Regions from separate parts of the Homo sapiens genome. Here regions 2, 3, 4, 5, 6 and 7 are each linked to region 1. Evidence: promoter capture Hi-C in 16 types of primary human blood cells and fetal thymus (Javierre and others, 2016). All regions are on one chromosome and are shown on one strand. Each heading gives the region's core, a stretch centred on a gene start or on the middle of the fragment in contact. The rest is flanking DNA. Distances are from core to core; before and after follow the strand shown.

What was found. The method cuts DNA at HindIII sites, captures the fragments that hold promoters and counts their contacts. A CHiCAGO score of 5 or more calls a contact.
Region 2: a contact is called between a fragment that was not itself captured here and the fragment with the promoter of CPA2 in region 1, in 6 of 17 cell types (M1 macrophages, naive CD4 T cells, M0 macrophages and 3 more). The highest score is 8.3, in M1 macrophages.
Region 3: a contact is called between a fragment that was not itself captured here and the fragment with the promoter of CPA2 in region 1, in 10 of 17 cell types (endothelial precursors, M2 macrophages, M1 macrophages and 7 more). The highest score is 9.6, in endothelial precursors.
Region 4: a contact is called between a fragment that was not itself captured here and the fragment with the promoter of CPA2 in region 1, in 11 of 17 cell types (endothelial precursors, erythroblasts, M1 macrophages and 8 more). The highest score is 14.6, in endothelial precursors.
Region 5: a fragment that was not itself captured here is called in contact with the fragment with the promoter of CPA2 in region 1 in 9 of 17 cell types (endothelial precursors, M1 macrophages, erythroblasts and 6 more); the score reaches 17.0 in endothelial precursors.
Region 6: a fragment that was not itself captured here is called in contact with the fragment with the promoter of CPA2 in region 1 in 7 of 17 cell types (endothelial precursors, M1 macrophages, M2 macrophages and 4 more); the score reaches 14.6 in endothelial precursors.
Region 7: a fragment that was not itself captured here is called in contact with the fragment with the promoter of CPA2 in region 1 in 4 of 17 cell types (endothelial precursors, M2 macrophages, M0 macrophages and 1 more); the score reaches 6.7 in endothelial precursors.

The regions. Positions count from the first base shown.
Region 1 is chr7:130,265,480-130,268,170 of GRCh38, forward strand. CPA2 (carboxypeptidase A2) reads left to right here and starts at 1,384. Exons shown (of 11, transcript NM_001869.3): 1 at 1,384-1,473. The coding sequence starts at 1,403. The HindIII fragment of the contact is 5,023 bases long and covers 92-2,691 here.
Region 2 is chr7:130,768,486-130,771,176 of GRCh38, forward strand. All of the region lies in intron 3 of LOC105375508 (a long non-coding RNA gene), which reads left to right. Among named protein-coding and RNA genes, the nearest start is that of KLF14, 36 kb to the left of the region's middle. The HindIII fragment of the contact is 2,758 bases long and covers 1-2,691 here.
Region 3 is chr7:130,748,021-130,750,711 of GRCh38, forward strand. The region is part of intron 3 of LOC105375508 (a long non-coding RNA gene); the gene reads left to right. Among named protein-coding and RNA genes, the nearest start is that of KLF14, 15 kb to the left of the region's middle. The HindIII fragment of the contact is 3,465 bases long and covers 1-2,691 here.
Region 4 is chr7:130,726,354-130,729,044 of GRCh38, forward strand. No RefSeq gene overlaps it. Among named protein-coding and RNA genes, the nearest start is that of KLF14, 6.5 kb to the right of the region's middle. The HindIII fragment of the contact is 776 bases long and covers 974-1,749 here.
Region 5 is chr7:130,700,169-130,702,859 of GRCh38, forward strand. No RefSeq gene overlaps it. Among named protein-coding and RNA genes, the nearest start is that of TSGA13, 15 kb to the left of the region's middle. The HindIII fragment of the contact is 749 bases long and covers 955-1,703 here.
Region 6 is chr7:130,675,335-130,678,025 of GRCh38, forward strand. The region is part of intron 5 of TSGA13 (testis specific 13); the gene reads right to left. Among named protein-coding and RNA genes, the nearest start is that of COPG2, 7.9 kb to the left of the region's middle. RefSeq lists an enhancer at 980-1,536. The HindIII fragment of the contact is 4,053 bases long and covers 1-2,691 here.
Region 7 is chr7:130,657,102-130,659,792 of GRCh38, forward strand. All of the region lies in intron 4 of COPG2 (coat protein complex I subunit gamma 2), which reads right to left. Among named protein-coding and RNA genes, the nearest start is that of COPG2, 10 kb to the right of the region's middle. The HindIII fragment of the contact is 4,185 bases long and covers 1-2,691 here.

The DNA.
Region 1 (2,691 bases), core at 134-2,633:
ACCTCGTGATCCACCTGCCTTGGCCTCCCAAAGTGCTGGGATTACAGGCGTGAGCCACTGAGCCCAGCCTGAAACTTGATTTTTTCCAGGAAGCTTTTATTGATTCTCCAAGTACATACTTCCAGTTTATTGAACTACTGTTTATTTGATAGGTGCTGGAGACATGAGGATGAATTATGGCCTCTGCCTTTTGGTTTCTGTCTTCTCTCTGACTCCCAGGAGAATGAAAAACCAAGTTAATCCAGTCATTCTTAAAATCAGAAACACTGTGTATATACCTTTCCCCTTAAAGCAGATATTTGAGAATGCAAACCCAGAGATTTAAAGTGTGTGCTGATAAATTTGACACACAAAGGACAGACGAAAATTTCCTTGCTGCTTGTTGTGGTTGAGGCTTTCTAGGCTTAATATAACGTGTATGAACAACTAAAATTAAATAAACTATGGTTTCTAAAAATAAGCAGTTATATTTTCTTCTTAAGCAATGAAGAACAAAGTCAGATTAATGTAGATCTATGTTTATGAACAAGAAAAGATCACCTTTGTTTAAAGAACAGTATACGTGATATGGTCTAATCTTTGTTTAAGAAAAAAACTCGAAAGCAGAGAAAGAAATTTGGAAAGACATATGCCAAATGGTTTTCTTTGGATGGAAGAATTATTGATGGTTAAAGAAAACACTTTCTTTTAATTCACACTTTTTATAACAAGCAACTTCATTGTTGCTTGTTATAGGAAATGTCATCAGAAAGACATTTTCATTTTGGGAAAAAGCACAGAAAGAGGGATATCAATTTGGTGCAAATGCAGATGGATCACTTTCGAGAAAGTGCAAAATTGAATATTAAAAGGCCTTCTGTTTTGTTTTAATGTAGAGTGAGGATTGGAATGGGCCACATCTACAGGGACACTCAGCAGATGTGGACTGAGTGACTGCAGTGTTTCAAGGTAAACATTATAAAAATAAACAAATGAGCAAACTAATGGAATGTGATAGACAGGATGCCTGAGTAATTACTATAAATGCTCTGGCCTTTTTTTTGTGTGTGTGTCAGAGACCCAGAAAAGACTTTAACCTCTAGGTCTATTAATCTGGCTTCTATCACAGGGTAGCTAGTGGCGTTTTATGGTCTCAATCATAACTATATTGCCCTTGGTATGCTCTAGCAATTTTGTTCTCTTTCCATCAAAGTTTGTTATCTTATCCTAGGAATGGAACATGTACACATTGGTGATATCACACAGGTGGATGTCTACAACCTTGAGAATTTCACATGCAGGTGGGAATTTTCCCATGTGGGAATTCACGTGAGTTCTCAGAAGGCCAGCAGATCACCCTCAGCTGCCATCCCTACAAATAAAGTTCAGGAAGGACTCTGAATTCTGGACTCCAGGAAAACCCATGGCCATGAGGTTGATCCTGTTTTTTGGTGCCCTTTTTGGGCATATCTACTGTCTAGAAACATTTGTGGGGTAAGTTATGCTTTCTGGTGCTTCTTTGAATTTTACTTACCTGATTGATGGAGGCTTTGATTGTTACAGAGTAAATGGGTATAAGTGTTCAGTGTTTTCAGAGAAGTTCTCTTAGATTTGGGGATAAGTCAATAGTGTGAAAAAAAGGAGTGGATGATCAAAAAGGAGGTGAATGACATTTAAAGGAAAAGACAAAAGTGAAAACTGAACACACATAACCCTATTTCTCTCTGTCCTTACTCATTTTTCCCTCCAGTGATCAGACTGTAGGGATGATAGACATCAGGGAAAATACAGCTGTGTGGCCATTTGTTCCAGGCAACTCAGCGGGTGTCAATGCTACTCTCCCACCTCCTCCTGCTCTTCTGGGCTTTACCATCCACGTTAGCCCTTGTGCCCTAACCCCCGATCTTTAGATTCAGCACCTAGGTGGTGGAACCTCATGAAGTAGAAAGGCCAGGGCTATAGATTTCAGCTCAACTCCTCCTCTCCTGGCTTTGGAGGACTCATCTTTGCTCCAAAGTACTTTGCTTCATGATTCTATGAAGGGTTTCAGGCAGCATTTTTTGAAGAGTGGTCCAGGGAGCTAAGAAAGCAATCAAATAAGTTTGGTCCCAAAAAGCCACTGGTCAAATAAATGTGGGAATCAGAGGATTAAACAAACTATAGGATTTCTAGGAGCCTTGGCTAAATCAGTGTGCATTATAAATCTATAAGAGGGGATCTAGGTTGCAGCATGTACTCTTTTTTTTAATCATAAACTACCTACTGCTCCCAGCTTGCCCTTTCTTTCTTTCTCTTTCTCTTTCTTTCTTTCTTTCTCTTTCTTTCTTTCTTTCTTTCTTTCTTTCTTTCTTTCTTTCTTTCTTTCTTTCTTTCTTTCACTGAGTAACTCAAAGAACTACTATTCTTTAGAACACACACCAGGAAATATGACCCTGTTGTATTACTTTTCTCAGTGCCTTCCCATTTTAAAGGAGGACTCCTGGGAGTCCATGCATTAACCGAAAATAATGAGACTTAAATGGAAGAATTTTCAGACCATTTGTGGCAGGTGAGCCTCGAAGAGCTCACATTCCATCACTTCTGTATTCCACTGGAGTTCGTAGGAAATTGCATGGAGCTTGGTTTCAGAAGACCCATATTCTGGTCCCTGTACATGGCTCATTGTATTGATTCCTTCCCCACTGCACAAACAGTTGGGGCAGTGACTTAGGA
Region 2 (2,691 bases), core at 71-2,570, 500 kb after region 1:
CACAAACAAAATTAGAAGTTCTACGATGAGATAAAAACCATAAGAAAGAACCAAACAGAAAATCTGGAGCTAAACTGGCTCCAGTTTTAGCCAGCTCCACTGGCTAAACTGAAAAATTCTGTAAAGAGGTCAATCACACACAAGAAAGAATCACTGAGGTCAAAGATCATTTGAAATTACCTGGTGAGAACAAAAACAAGAAAAACAATAATGATGAAACGGTGAAAAATGTATATGGGAATTACAAGACTTCTTCAAGTGAACCAATGTTGACATTATGGGAATTTAAGGAGGAGCAGAGAAAGAGAAAGGATTAGAAAGCATATTTAAATAAATAATGATGAAAAAAACCCTTCCAAATCTGGAAAGGGAAATGACCATCCATATCCTGAATCCCAAAGAACCCTAAATAGATTAAATATAAAATTATCTTCACTGAGACACATTGTAATCAAACTCTCAAAAGTTAAAGACAAAAAGTTTGAAAGCAGAAAGAGAATAGAACCTTGTTTCATACAAGGGGACCCCCATAAGACCATCAGCAGATTTCTCAAAAGAAACTTTGTAGGCCAGGAGAGAGTAGAATGATTTATTCAAAGTACCGAAAGAAAAAAAAATCCTGCCATATAGAGCAAGGCTGTTCTTTCAGAAATGATAGAGACTTTAGAACATTCCCAGATTAAAAAAAAAAAAAACTGAGGGAGTTTATCATCACTAGATCTGCTTTAAACAAAAATGCTGGCCTGTAATCCCACCACTTTGGGAGGCTGAGACAGGAGGATCGCTTGAGGCCAGGAGTTCAAGACCAGCCTAGGCAACATAGCAAGACCCCATTTCCATTTTTTAAATGCTAAAGGTAGTTCTTTAAACAGAAAAGTAACATGGAAACATATGAAATTATGAAACTCATTAGTAAAAGTAAGTACATAGTCAAATCCAGAATATTCTAATATGATAATGGCAGTGTATAAATCACTTATATCTCTAGTATGAAGACTAAAAGGGAAAACTCTAAAATAATAGTTATAAAAGTTTGTTAAGGGATACACAATCTAAAAAGATGTAAATGGTGACTTCAAAAACATAAAATGTGTGTGGGGTGCTAAAGTGTGTAGTTTTTTTACATAACTGAAGTTAAGTGAGCAGCTTAAAATAGGCTCTTGTAAGTATAAGATGTTTTATATAAACCTCACTGCTTCATTAAAATCTTTTATTTATAATTTTAATTGACTTAAAAATTTAATAGACTATTTTTTAGAGCAATTTTAGGTTTACAGAAAAATTGATTAGATAATACAGAGAGTTTCTAAATAACCCTTCTTTCCCGGCACGCAGTTTTTCTATTATTAACATCTTTCACTGGTAAGGTACATTTTTTACAATTGATGAAATTGTATTGATACATTATAATTCATTAAAGTCCACAATTTACATTAGGGTTCACTCTTTGTGTTGTACAGTTCTATGGCTTTTGACATAGTGTCATGTATCTATCTCTACATTATCATATAGAATAGTTTCACCACTCCAAAAATCCCCTGTACTCCATCTATTCAACTTTTCTTCCCTTGCCCCTAGCAAAGACTGATTTTTTTACTGTCTCTTACAGTTTGCCTTTTCCAGAATGTTCTATGATTGGAATCATATAGAATGTGCTTTTTTTAGACTGCTTTTTTTTACTTACCAATATGTATTTAAAGTTCTTTCATGTCTTTTTATGGTTTAATAGCTCATTTTCTTTTATCACTGAATAATAGTCCATTGTATGGATATACAACAGTTTGTTTATCCATCCACTTATTTAAGGGAATCTTGGTTGCTTCCAGTTTCTGGAAAGTATGAATAAAGCTGCTATAAACGTTCATTTACAGGTTTCTGTGTGCACATAAGTTTTCAACTTAATTGGGTAAATACCTAGGAGCACAGATGCTGTATTGTAATGTAAAACTATATTTACGTTTGTATGAAATTGCCAAACTGTCTTCCAAAGTGGCTGTAACAGTTTGCATTCCCGTCAGCAATGACTGGGAGTTCCTGTTGCTCCACATCTTGCTCCACATCCTCATCATCATTTGATATTTTCAGAATTTTGGATTTTAGCCATTTTAATAGTGTAGCAGTATCTCATTGTTATCCTAATTTGCAATTACCTAATGACAATTTATTTTGTTTTCATATGCTTATTTGTTGCCATATATTCTCTGGTGAGACATCTGTTCTGATCTTTTGCCTGTTTTAAAATTAGATTGTTTGTTTACTTATTACTGAGTTTTGTTTTGTTTTGAGACAGAATCTCGTTCTGTCACCCAGGCTGGAGTGCAGTGTTGCAGTCTTGGCTCACTGCGAGCTCCGCCTCCCGGGTTCACGCCATTCTCCTGCCTCAGCCTCCGGAGTAGCTAGGACTACAGGCGCCCACCACCATGCCTGGCTAATTTTTTTGTATTTTTAGTAGAGAACGGGTTTCACTGTGTTAGCCAGGATGGTCTCGATCTCCTGACCTTGTGATTTGCCTGCCTCGGCCTCCCAAAGTGCTGGGATTACAGGCGTGAGCCACTGTGCCCGGCCACGTATTACTGAGTTTTAAGAATTATTTGTCTATTTTGGATATGTGTTCTATCAAATGTGTGTTTCACAAATATTTTCTTCCAGTGTGTGGCTTGCCTTTGCATTCTCTTAACAATGTATGTCACA
Region 3 (2,691 bases), core at 112-2,611, 480 kb after region 1:
TGTAGTCCCAGCTACTCAGGAGGCTGAGGCAGGAGAATGGTGTGAACCCGGGAGGTGGAGCTTGCAGTGAGCCAAGATTGTGCCACTGCACTCCAGCCTGGGCGGCAGAGCAAGACTCCGTCTCAAAACAAAAATTAAAAAAAAAAAAAAAAAAAAACCACTCTCAAGTATAAAAAATAAACTCTAGGTGGATTAGGGAGGTAAGCATAAAAATCAAATTTAAAGCACTGGAATAATCTCAATAGATGTAGAGTAAATATTTAACAAAATTAAAGATTCCTTCATGATTAAAAAACTCTTAGAAAATTAGGAGTAGAAAGGAATGTCCTTAATTTTATAAATGACATCTACAGAAAAACCTACATTGTACTTAACAGTGAAAAATGGGATGATTTTCACCTAAGATTGGAAATAAGCTAAGGATGTTCACTCTCTCACTTCAATTCTCAGATATTATTGTCTATTAAGAAAATCCCAAGGCATCTATCCAAAAGTTCATAGAACTAAGAAGTCATTTTAGTAAGTTTTCAAAATACAAGGTCTGTATACTAACAATGAATACATAAAAATCAAAATTAAAAAACAGCATTATTTCCCACACACACCAGTTCCATTTAGCACCAAAAAGATAAATATTTAATATATAGTTAACAAAATTTTCGTTATCTGTGTACTTAAAACTACAAAAGACCAATGAAAGACAGCATATACCTAAATAAATGGCAAGTCTTCCATGGATTGGAAGACTCAGTACTGTGTAGATGTCATTTCTCCCCAAATTGACATATAGATTCGAATGGCCGTAATCAAAATCCAAGTAGGAGTGTGACTTTTGTAGATATTATATTTTAAATTGACATGGAAAGACAAACTAAAATAATCAAAACAATTTTGGAAAAAAACTTTTGAAAATAGGTTGTTAGGAAATGCATACTATTTGATTTTAAGAGCTATTATAAAACTACAGTGATTAGGACAGTGTGGTACTGGTGGGAAAATGGACACAAATATTAACGGAGCAGAGGGAGGATTTCAGAAATAGATCAAACTAGCCAACTGATTTTTGACAAAGGTGCAAACACAGTTCAACGGAGAAAGAATAGTCTTTTCAGCAGATTGTTCTTGAACAGTTGGATATTTGTTCATAAAACCTGAATTTCAATTCATACCTTCCATCTTCTACAAAATTATAATCAAAATGGATTTTAGACCTAAATATAAAAATCCAAAACTATAAAACTTCCATGGAAAAAAAAAGAAGAAAGATTTGTGTTCTAGAGTTAGGCCAAGATTTCTTAGATTTTGATATCAAAAGCATAAGCTATAACAGAAAAAAAGAAATTGGACTTCATCAAAATTAAAAGTTTCTCTGCAAGACACCTAAGATAGTTAGAAGACAAGCAACAGACTGGAAGAAATATTTGCAAATTATGTACCTGAAAAAGAATTTGTATTGAAAAAATATAAAGAACTTTCAAAGTTCAACATTAAACAATAAATAACTCAATTTTTAAAATGGACAAAAGATTTGAACACTTTACTCAAGAAGATGTGGGGCTGGCAAATAAGTATACAAAAAGATGCTCACTATTAACAGTTAGGGAAATGCAGATTGAAACCACAGTGAGGCACCGCTATACACCTTTTAGGTTTTTTGTTTTGTTTTGTTTTTTTGAGACAGTGTCGCTCCGTCGCCTAGGCTGGAGTGCAGTGGCATGATTTCAGCTCACTGTAGCCTCCGCCTCCTGGGTTCAAGCAATTCTTCTGCCTCAGCTTCCCGAGTAGCTGGGACTACAGTCATGCACCACCACACCCGGCTAATTTTTGTATTTTTAGTAGAGACGGGGGTCTCACCATATTGGCCAGGCTGGTCTCGAACTCCTGACCTTGTGATCTGCCCGCCTCAGCCTCCCAAAGTGCTGGGATTACCAGCGTGAGCCACCGCACCCGGCCCTTTTAGAATTTTTTAAATGTTCTTTTTAAACCAGACAATACAGAGCATCTGGAACTCTCAAACTCTGGAGCCCTAAAGCCCAGTGTGCTAGACGGGAGAGATGCCTCCAAGGTCTTATCTCTAGCCACTGGCTTCCGCCATTTGTATGTGGTGTTCTATTTCTAATGTGTAGGCCAGCTTATAAAGTTAAACACACATTTACCACATGATCCAGTAATCCCTCTCCTAGGTAGTTAGCCAAGAGAGCTGAAAACTTATATTCACCCAGAAACCTTTATGTGACTGTTCATGATGGTTTTATTCATAATTGCCCAAAATCAAAAACCAGAAACAACCCAGATGTTGTTCTGCTGGTGAACGGACCAACGCACTGGCACTTCATGCAATGGAATGATAATCAGCAATGAAAAGGGGCAGACTGTGAGACACACAGCAGTGTGGATGGACTTCATCTGCATTATGCCAGGAGAAAAAGTCAGATAAAGGCTACCTACTTTATGGTTCCATTTGTATGAGGAATCCCTTAAAAACAGATCCGTCGTTGCCACAGGCTGGCTGTGGGAGGAAGGGCAGGAATGATTTTGGAGGGTTACAGAACTGTTCAGTATCTTGTTTGAGGGGGTGCTTACATGACTGTATAAATTTGTTAAAAACTCATAGAGTGGTACACAAAGAGAGAATTTTGCTGTTTATGAATTTCAAAATGTGAATTTAAAAATTACTGTGAAAAAATGTAG
Region 4 (2,691 bases), core at 112-2,611, 460 kb after region 1:
GTTTTGGTATCAAGGTTAGCTTGACAACATAAAAGAAATTAGTTAATTTTCTATCCTTTTCTATGCTTTAGAGTGCTTTATAAAAATAGAAATTATCTTTTTCTTGAAGGCTTAGAAAATTTGCCAATGCAACTGCTGAGACCTAGTGCCTTTTGGGAGATACAAGTTTGACTACCACTTCAATTTCAGATTTTCTACATCTTCTTAAACTATTTTGAAATTTTATATTTTTCTTATAAAATTATCCATATAGTTTTCAATTCTTGATATAAAGTTGTTTGTATTATTCTAATTTAAAAAATCTGTGTTATGATTTTATGTCCTGTTTTATTCCTGATAACTTTTTGTGCCTTCTATTTTATTTTATTTTATTTTTGAGACAGGGCCTCACTCTGTTGCCCAGGCTGAAGTGCAGTGACACAATCACAGTGCAGCCTCGGCCTCCCCGGCTCAAGCAATTCTTCAGCTTCAGCCTCCTGAGTAGCTGGGACTACATGTGCATACCACGCACTCAGCTAATTTTTTTTTTTTTTTTTTTTTCTTTGGTAGAGACAGGGCTTTGCCATGCTTCTTGAACTCCTGGGCTCAAATGACCCTCCCACCTTGGCCTCCAAAGTTTTGGAATTACAGGCGTGAGCCACTGCACCCGACCCTGACTTCTCTTTTTAAGAAATTTATATTTGCCAAAGAAACCTACTGTTATTCACCTTTTAAAAGAGTTTTGCTCAAAGCTACCTATTTTTTCTTGTTTCATTAATTTCTGCTTTATTAATGATAATATTTTTCATTCTTTTTTTATTATCACCCCTCCAGAATTGGTTTCAGATTTTTTTTTCCTAATCACTCCCCGTTCCCCACATCCCTATGAAATCTTAAACCACACATATAGTGTATATCTATTTATGTAGTATGCTGTTTTGGAGGCCACAACCATTGTAATATTTAAATGTTTTCCTTTTCTTCTGGAGTTGAAAGCTTAGTTCATTCACCTTCATTCAACCTTTCTCTTTTTTGAATAAAATATTTAAGGCTATAAATTACATTTCCTCCCCTAGTGTTTTTTGCTTGCTATATAGTGCTTTTTGTTTTCATTCAGCTCCAAATTTCTGCAATTTCCCCTTCTGTCTGACTTACGTAGAGGCTTCCTTTTACGGATTTCTCAATTTATGGATTTTTAATGATATTTTTGTTGTATTTTTATGTGATTACCTGCCTGAAGTTTGTCTAGACTTTCTTTGTATCTTACCATGTGGCCGATAGGAATGCTTGCAATCTTTCAACATTTAAGTTTGATTTTTATAGTAGGCTTTTGGCAGATACCTTTTATCAACTTAAGAAATTATCTTTTGTTACTAGTTTACTAAGGTATTTTTAAATTAAATCACAAATCATTGTTGATTTTTAACAATGAAACTATTGAGACGGTTATGCCTTTTTGCTTCCTAATTTCTATTAATTTGATCAATAACTTTGATATATTTCATGTGTCTCATCTTCCCACACTTTCTAAAGACTTACTTCTTTCTGTACGTTCTCCAAGCAACCATCTATATTCCCACTGACAATGGTAATATCACTGAAACTAAGCTAAAAATACTTGGAAGTATTGTTTACATTTTCTGTAATCATCTACTATACCTATCTCAGTGATAGGGATGATTTCCCAGTGCTTTCTCTGCAAATTTAAACAGGTATCTCTCAATATTTTCTTGGGCCTGAGATCCTGAGTGAAGACAGACATTCATGTAAAGCTTGCGTCCATTCTTTTGTTAGATCTCTTAGGGTTCTAATCACCTCCTCTAACCTACTAATAATTAAAATGCCACTCTCCTTTATAATTCCATGTTTAAGATTGTTGGCTACTGGTCTTTCTTATTTTTCTTTTCACATCATCAATACTGTCCTCTGAAAACACAACCTTTCTTCTAAATAAATCCTTCTCTTCTTTCAGCTTAATCAAACCATCATCCTTTCTTCAGTTTTCACCCTTGTACTGCTTCTATTTTGATTTCAAGATTTAAATATATATATTTGAAACAAATATGGCTCCCATTTTATTTCCTGAATAGACCCTGATTCCTAGGGAGAGAAGGATTCAGGCAAAAGCCTTTTTAATACTTTTCCTGCCTTTGGGATTATGGTATACAATGCTTTTCTCTTCCTCAAACCCCTATATAACAAAAACTTCCATTCCTCTTTATGTATTTGTGATAAAATCCACCATTTCTCTGTGGTTGAACACACAAGAAATTCAGCTGAGGCCTTGAAATTCCACTGTCAGGGCTTATATAGTAAACACATCTGGCACCAACTTGGAATATAAATAGAAGGTGATTCTGGATATCCCATATGAATTAAAGGATTTGGAGCCTCCCATTGGCCTCTCCTTAGCCCTATTAAAGGGTGCATTTCAAATCCAGATAATGGGGAAACTGATCTGATACCACCTGATACTTCCCAGAATAATTTAAGAGCTAGAATGTCCCTAACCTGTGCTCTTACATATACATGGAACTTATGCCACTGACCTTAGAATCCTCAACTGCAATTCTGGCTGAGCATAAAGGCAGCACAAATTGATCTATTGAATAGCGCCTTCCCTTTCTGCAGTGATCCTGTCTCAGTTACATCTATGTGAATCAAAATCAGCCACAGTGTTCTGTACAGCTCACTTTTGCCAAAGTCTATGCT
Region 5 (2,691 bases), core at 79-2,578, 430 kb after region 1:
CAACATGGAGTTGGAGACCAACCTGACCAACATGGCAAAACCCCATCTCTACTAAAAATACAAAAATTAGCCGGGTGTGGTGGCTCGCACCTGTAGTCCCAGCTACTCGTAAGGCTGAGGCAGGAGAATTGCTTGAACCCGGGAGGCGGAGGTTGCAGTGAACCAACAGAGTGCCACTGTACTCCAGCCTGGGCGACAGAGTGAGACTTTGTCTCAAAAAGAAAGAAAGAAAGAAATGCCAAATTGCACTCCACAATGGCTGCCTCTTTTAAATATCTGCTTTGAAGGATTGCCCTTGGGCTACTGGAGCCACTTATCCCAGAGAATAGGAAGTGTCTGGGAGATTAGGTACCCCCAGTACATCTGTAGTCAATGGACCACTGCAGTATAAGGATGAAAGCCCAGCTCCTTTGCCTTAGACTCTTTCAGGCTGAGGCATAATTTCCTCTCCAGAACTCCCTTATAGGATCAGATTAAGGCTAGGACTCTGTCTGAAATACAGTACATCTTTCTTTAGTTTCTTCTATTTTTCTGTCCTTCATCCCCAACTTCCTTACCAGTTTATGCTGGGATGACTTTCTTAATAAGTTATTTGAAAATAAATCTATGTCTCAAGATTGGCTTTTGGCGAACATGAGCTAAGTCACATTGCCCCATCCACACTTAGTATCATTCAACTTTCTAATTCTTCCCTATTTCACTGTTGTTTCAATTTGCATTTCTTTGATTATTAATGAGTTTAAACATTTCTTCATATTTATCAACTTTTGGTTCCTTATTTAAATGCTGATTCATATCTTTTGCCTATTATTTTAATGAAGTTGCTGACATTTTCTTGTGAATTTGCAAGATTTTGTTATATATTCTAGATATCAACCCATAGTCAGCTTTAAATGGTATGAATAATTTTCTTTAATTCTATTAGCTGTCCATTAATTTTTTCCCTGGATAGAAAGCTTTTGTGTGTGTGTGTGTGCCTCCACCAAGATTTTTTAAATTAACTATTTTAAATTCAGTGACATTTAGTTCATTTGCAGCATTGTGCAACCACCGCATCTATCTAGTTTTGAAACATTTTCTTCACTCTAAAGTAAAACCTTTTGCACATTAAACAGTTTCTCCTCTTTCTCTCTAACCTGCCAGTACCTGGCAGCCACCAATCTGTGTTCTATCTTTATGAATTTATCTATTCTGGATATTTCATACAAATGGAATCATACAATATGTGATCTTTGGTGTCTGGCTTCTTTCACTTAGCTAATGTTTTAGAGGTTCATCCATGTTATAGCATGTATTAGGTACGGTACTTCATCCTTTTTTTTAATCACTGAAAAATATGCTTATGAATATACTGCAATTTGTTTATCCACTCTTCCACTGATAGACATTTGGGCTGTTTCCACCTTTTGACTATTATCAATAGTGCTGTTATGAACATGTGTGTACATGTGCTTATTTGAGTGCCTGTTTTTATTATTTGCAGCATATAGTGCTAGCATTTACCTAGGAGTGTAAATGCTAGATCATATGGCTAACCATTTTACATTCCCACTAGCAATGTATGAGGTTCCAATTTCTCCACATCCTTGCAAACATTTATTTTCTGGTGGTTTTTTGTTGTTGTTGTTGTTGTTGTTGTTTTTGTTTTTGTTTTTCACTTGTAGTCATCCCAGTGGGTGTGAAGTATTACCTCGGTGTTGGAAAGCTTTTTTGATGTAAATAGGTTAATTAATGTTTTGACTTATGGTTGTGTTTTCTTTTTTTTTTTTTTTAATTTATAAACTTTATTTAAACTTTATTTTTTTTTTCTTTTATCCGTAAACTTCTTTTTTTTTTTTTTTATTATACTCTAAGTTTTAGGGTACATGTGCACATTGTGCAGGTTAGTTACATATGTATACATGTGCCATGCTGGTGCGCTGCACCCACTAATGTGTCATCTAGCATTAGGTATATCTCCCAATGCTATCCCTCCCCCCTCCCCCGACCCCACCACAGTCCCCAGAGTGTGATATTCCCCTTCCTGTGTCCATGTGATCTCATTGTTCAATTCCCAGCTATGAGTGAGAATATGCGGTGTTTGGTTTTTTGTTCTTGCGATAGTTTACTGAGAATGATGGTTTCCAATTTCATCCATGTCCCTACAAAGGATATGAACTCATCATTTTTTATGGCTGCATAGTATTCCATGGTGTATATGTGCCACATTTTCTTAATCCAGTCTATCATTGTTGGACATTTGGGTTGGTTCCAAGTCTTTGCTATTGTGAATAGTGCCGCAATAAACATACGTGTGCATGTGTCTTTATAGCAGCATGATTTATACTCATTTGGGTATATACCCAGTAATGGGATGGCTGGGTCAAATGGTATTTCTAGTTCTAGATCCCTGAGGAATCGCCACACTGACTTCCACAATGGTTGAACTAGTTTACAGTCCCACCAACAGTGTAAAAGTGTTCCTATTTCTCCGCATCCTCTCCAGCACCTGTTGTTTCCTGACTTTTTAATGATTGCCATTCTAACTGGTGTGAGATGATATCTCATAGTGGTTTTGATTTGCATTTCTCTGATGGCCAGTGATGATGAGCATTTCTTCATGTGTTTTTTGGCTGCATAAATGTCTTCTTTTGAGAAGTGTCTGTTCATGTCCTTCGCCCACTTTTTGATGGGGTTGTTTGTTTTTTTCTT
Region 6 (2,691 bases), core at 50-2,549, 410 kb after region 1:
CATGGCCTCTTCACTACCTTTCTTCCTCATGGTTTGAGTCTTTTTTTGGGGGGGGTGGGGTGGGGAGGGGATGGAATCTCACTCTGTTGCCTGGGCTGGACTGCAGTGGCACAGTCTCCACTCACTGCAACCTCCACCTCCCAAGTTCAAGCAATTCTCCTGTGTTAGCCTCCGGAGTAGCTAGGACTACAGGCATGTGCCACCACGCCTGGCTAATTTTTTGTATTTTTAGTAGAGACAGGGTTTCACCACGTTAGCCAGGATGGTCTCAATCTCCTGACCTCGTGATCTGCCTGCCTCGGCCTCCCAAAGTGCTGGGCTTACAGGCGTGAGCCACTGCGCCAGGCCGGTTTGAGTCTTCTAGCCTTACTCTTATGTGTCCTTTTAGCTTTCATTCCTACTGCTTCAATCTTTTCATTTCTCAATTCAGAGACCTGGAAACAAGAATCTGATTAGCTCAGGGATTCTGGATGTTGGTAGGTTGGTTGGTTTTTGTTTTGATTTGTTTTTTGTTTGTTTTGGTTTTAGGGTACCAATCCACATCACAGGTCACTACCCAGCCTATGAATTTTGCTTTGTTGGGTCTGATATCCTCCTCTGGTCTCAACTAGGAGTGGGGACACGGTCCTGTTGTACAAAATAGAACTTCTCAGGATATTCCCTTACTCAGGAGACTGTGGTAGGGTCAGTTTCACTTAGAAGGGGCTGTTAGTATGACAATCACTGTAATAGATATATCTAGTACATTCCATAACTTGCCTACTAGAACTCACAGTCTTTTTGGATGCATGCCTGGGCATAACAAAGAATGCTTTTCTTGTAAATGATTCTAGGTTTACAAAAGATTATCACATTTGTCCAGCAAGGGAAGGAAAGGATGCTGCATGAATATTAAAGAGGCATTGTAGATATCACACGTTTCAATCTTCTTGGGCTTGTTCCAGTCTGATAGCCCCATAAAATTACCATGGTGCCAGTCTTTGAGCCTTAACTTTATCCATTAGTACAATTTAACTGGTACCACAATTTGCTCATCAATATGATTAGATTCTGCACCTGAACTGGAGGGTTCACAAAGTGTGCAGGCTGTTGGAAGAAAGCTCTTCCCACACCCAGTTTACATGATAGCTTTGTATTTCCTTCTGCGCATTAAGCAGGGCAATCCTGGCCTGGCATTTATCCCTTTCTCAATGTATGGTCCACCCACTGCCATGAGAAACTACCAGTGAGCTTACCTTCAAAGGGCACAAATTCTGAGACCCAAGAGACCACATGCGGTAAATTCATTAACTCCTTTGTTAGTACATGCCATTGGATATTAGCATTTTATCTTCCACTTGAAGGAGAATCTCTCACTGTCATCCATCTAGGAACTATGGAAACACTAACTCCAAATTCACCACATTTTATTATAAGGGTCTCACTTGGGTAATCCCATGCCCAGCATAAAATTTCTACTAGAATCCTTTGTTTGCACTTTCACTTAACTCATTTATTTAATTTGTTCTTGTTAGATTAGACCCGCTCTTGAGGCTATCATGACCTTTTTTAGATTTTGATTCTTTTTTTTTTTTTTGAGACTGAGTCTCCCTCTGTCGCCCAGGCTGGAGTGCAGTGGTGCGATCTCGGCTCACTGCGAGCTCCGCCTCCCACGTTCACTCCATTTTCCTGCCTCAGCCTCCGGAGTAGCTGGGAGTACAGGCGCCCGCTACCACGCCCGGCTAATTTTTTGTATTTTTAGTAGAGACGGGGTTTCACTGGGTTAGCCAGGATGGTCTCAATCTCCTGACCTCGTGATCCACCTGCCTTGGCCTCCCAAAGTGCTGGGATTACAGGCGTGAGCCACTGCTCCCGGCCAGATTTTGATTCTTAAATATCTCATAATTAAATTTTCTCTACTTCCTCTGCTAATGATTTAGTTCAGGTCTTCAGTATCTCTCACCTTGACTATTTTAGTAACATTATAACTCATCTTTCTGGGTTTTGTCTCTTCCACAACTACTAATGCACCTTTCTTCAACCTCCAAAACAGTCTTCCTAAAATGCAAATTTGATTACATCCTTTTGTCTCCTGCCATTTACTCTATTTGCTTTTTCTTTTTTTTTTTGAGATAGAGTCTCGCCCTGTCGCCCATGCTGGAATGCAGTAGCGCTATCTTGGCTCACTGCAACCTCCACCTCCCAGGTTCAAGCGATTCTCCTCCCTCAGCCTCCTGAGTAGCTGGGACTACAGGCATGCAGCACCACGCATGGCTAATTTTTGTATTTTTAGGAGAGATGGGGTTTCACCATGTTGGCCAAGCTGGTGTCAAACTCCTTATCTCAAGTGATCTGCCCGCCTCAGCCTCCCAAAGTGCTGGGATTACAGGCGTGAGCCACTGCGCCTGGCCCTGCCATTTACTCTCTTACATCTTCCTGAATGCACCTCATTTTCCCATGTCTTCATGCTTTTGCTCTTTCCTCTGATTTGATATTTTCCTGTTCTTTTGTCATGGGTCACTTCCCTACTCACTCCCTTTTTCCCAACAGAAATACTGTATTCTACATTACTTCTGTATTTTGTATATTCTTCTATTACTTTAACATACCTCATTTATTGATCTTTCTCCTATTAGATTCCAAGTTCCTTTAAGACAGAAACTGTCCTGTAATCATCTTTATATTCTGGTTTTTAGCTTACTGTATCCTCAG
Region 7 (2,691 bases), core at 69-2,568, 390 kb after region 1:
ACTATAGATTTTAAACCTATAGTTAATCAAGACAGCATAGAGCTAAAGTAAGAACAGACATATAGGTCAATGAGACAAAATAATGTGCCAACGTGCCAATGTAACTCAATCATCTTCATCATCTCCTCCCCCTCCTCCCCTTTCTCCTTCCATATGGATATTCAATTGTTCCAGAACCATGTGTTGAGAAAATGAAGAAGGAAGAAAAGGAAGAGGCAGTGGATGGAGGAAGAGAAAAGAGGTGAAAAGAAACCAACCATTACTTTATACCATATACAAAAATCAATATGAAATGGATCATAAGGTAATTGATATAAAACTACAAACACCCAGAAAAAAAGCACAGGAGAAAATCGTTGTCCCCTTCGGTTAAGGAAAGATTTCTATGATATGACATAAAAAGCATCACCTGTAACAGAAAAAAATTTGATAAACTGGACTTCATCAAAATTTAAAACTTCTGCCCTTTGAAAGACTTTAACAAAATAAAAACATAAGCCATATACTGAGAGACAATAATTGTGAAACATATCTGATAAAGGATTTGTATCCAGAATGCATAAAGACCTCTTAAAACTCAATAATAAGAAAATAAACAATCCAATTTTTTTAATGGGCAAAAGATATTAACAAATCCTTCACCAACAGAAGATATACGGAAGGTAAAAATACAAATGAAAAGATGTTTGAGATCATCAGTCATTGGAAAAATGCAAATTTAAGTCACAAAGGGATACCATTATACACCTATCAGAATAGCTAAAATTAAAAACAAAAATAAAAACGACAATACAAAGTGCTGGCCAGAATGCAGAGCAAACTGCTGCTCTCATACAGTGATGGCGGGAATGATTACAAATATTTTAGAAAAATGGGTTGGTAGTTTCTTACAAAGTTAAACATACCATACCTACATATGGCCCAGCAATCCCACTCCCAGGCATTTATCCAAAAGAAATAAAAATGTATGTTCATCCAAAAATCAAAACATGAATGTTTATAGCAATGTTGTTTATAATCACCAAAAACTGGTAACAAGCCAAATATCCTTCAACTGGCAAACAGATAAACAGAGGTACATCCATTCAATGGAATACGACGACAAAATAAAAATAAACTACTGATACAAACAATAATATGGATGAATCTCACATGCATTATGCTAAGTAACTGAAAAGAAACTCAAAAAAGGCTTCATACAGTATGATATCATTCATATGACTTCCTGGAAAAGGCAAATTTATAAGGACAGAAAGGAGATAGATTGCCAGGGGCTGAGGGAGGCAAGGAGAAACAGATGATAAAGAGACACGGGGGAACTTTTTGAGGAGATGGAAATGTTCTAAACCTCAATTGTGGTGGTGATAACACCACTATATGTGTTTGTCAAAGCTCATAGAATGATACCCTAAAAAGGATGAATTTTACCGCATGTAAAACTACACTTAAAAAAAAAATAATAGTCCAGTAAATGAAAAGGCAAGCCACAGACTGGGAGGAAATATTTACAAAACATCTGTCTGATAAAGGACTTCTATCCAGAATACATAAAGAAACTTATAACTCAGTAAGATGACAACCTGATTTTTTTTTTTTTGACACGGAGTCTTGCACTGTTACCTGGGCTGGAGTGCAGTGGCACGATCTCAGCTCACTGCAATCTCCCCCTCCTGGGTTCAAGTGATTCTCCCACCTCAGCCTCCCAAGTAGCTGGGATTACAGGTGCCTGCCAGCACACCCAGCTAATTTTTTGTATTTTTAGTAGAGACAGGGTTTCACTATGTTGACCAGGCTGGTCTAAAACTCCTGACCTCATGATCTGCCCACCTCAGCCTCCTAAAGTGCTGAGATTACAGGCGTGAGCCACCGGGCCCAGCCGACAACCTGATTTTTTTAAGTGGTAACAAATTTTAACAGACACTTCATCAAAGCAGATATACAGATGGCAAATAAGTACATGAAAATATGCTTAGGCCGGGCGCGGTAGCTTACGCCTGCAATCCCAGCACTTTGGGAGGCTGAGACGGGCGGATCACAAGGTCAGCAGATCGAGACCATCCTGGCTAACACAGTGAAACCCCGTCTCTACTAAAAATACAAAAAATTATCCAGGTGTGGTGGCGGGTGCCTGTAGTCCCAGCTACTCAGGAGGCTGAGGCAGGAGAATGGCGTGAACCTGGGAGGCAAAGGTTGCAGTGAGCCGAGATCATGCCATTGCACTCCAGCCTGGGCGACAGAGCAAGACTCCGTCTCAAAAAAAAAAAAAACGAACAAACAAGCATTATCTAGAAATTCCACTTGTAGGTATCTACTCCAGAAAAAGTCTCACTGTGTACATAAACATTATGTGCAGTATCATTTGTAATAGGTAAAATGTGGGAACAACTTATATCTACCAATGGGAGAATGGATAAATAGAATTACTGTATATTCACATATTGGAATTCCATATAGTAGTGAAAGTAAATAAAGTAGAAGTACATGTAACAAGCCAGTAAATCTTAAAAATGTATTAATTATAAACACTGCAGGCTGGGTGTGGTGGCTCAGGCCTATAATCCCAGTACTTTGGGAGGCCAAGGCGGGCAGATAAAGAGGTCAGGAAATTGAGACCATCCTGGCCAACATGATGAAACCCTGTCTCTACTAAAAATACAAAAATTAGACAGGCATGGTGGCACGTGCCCACAG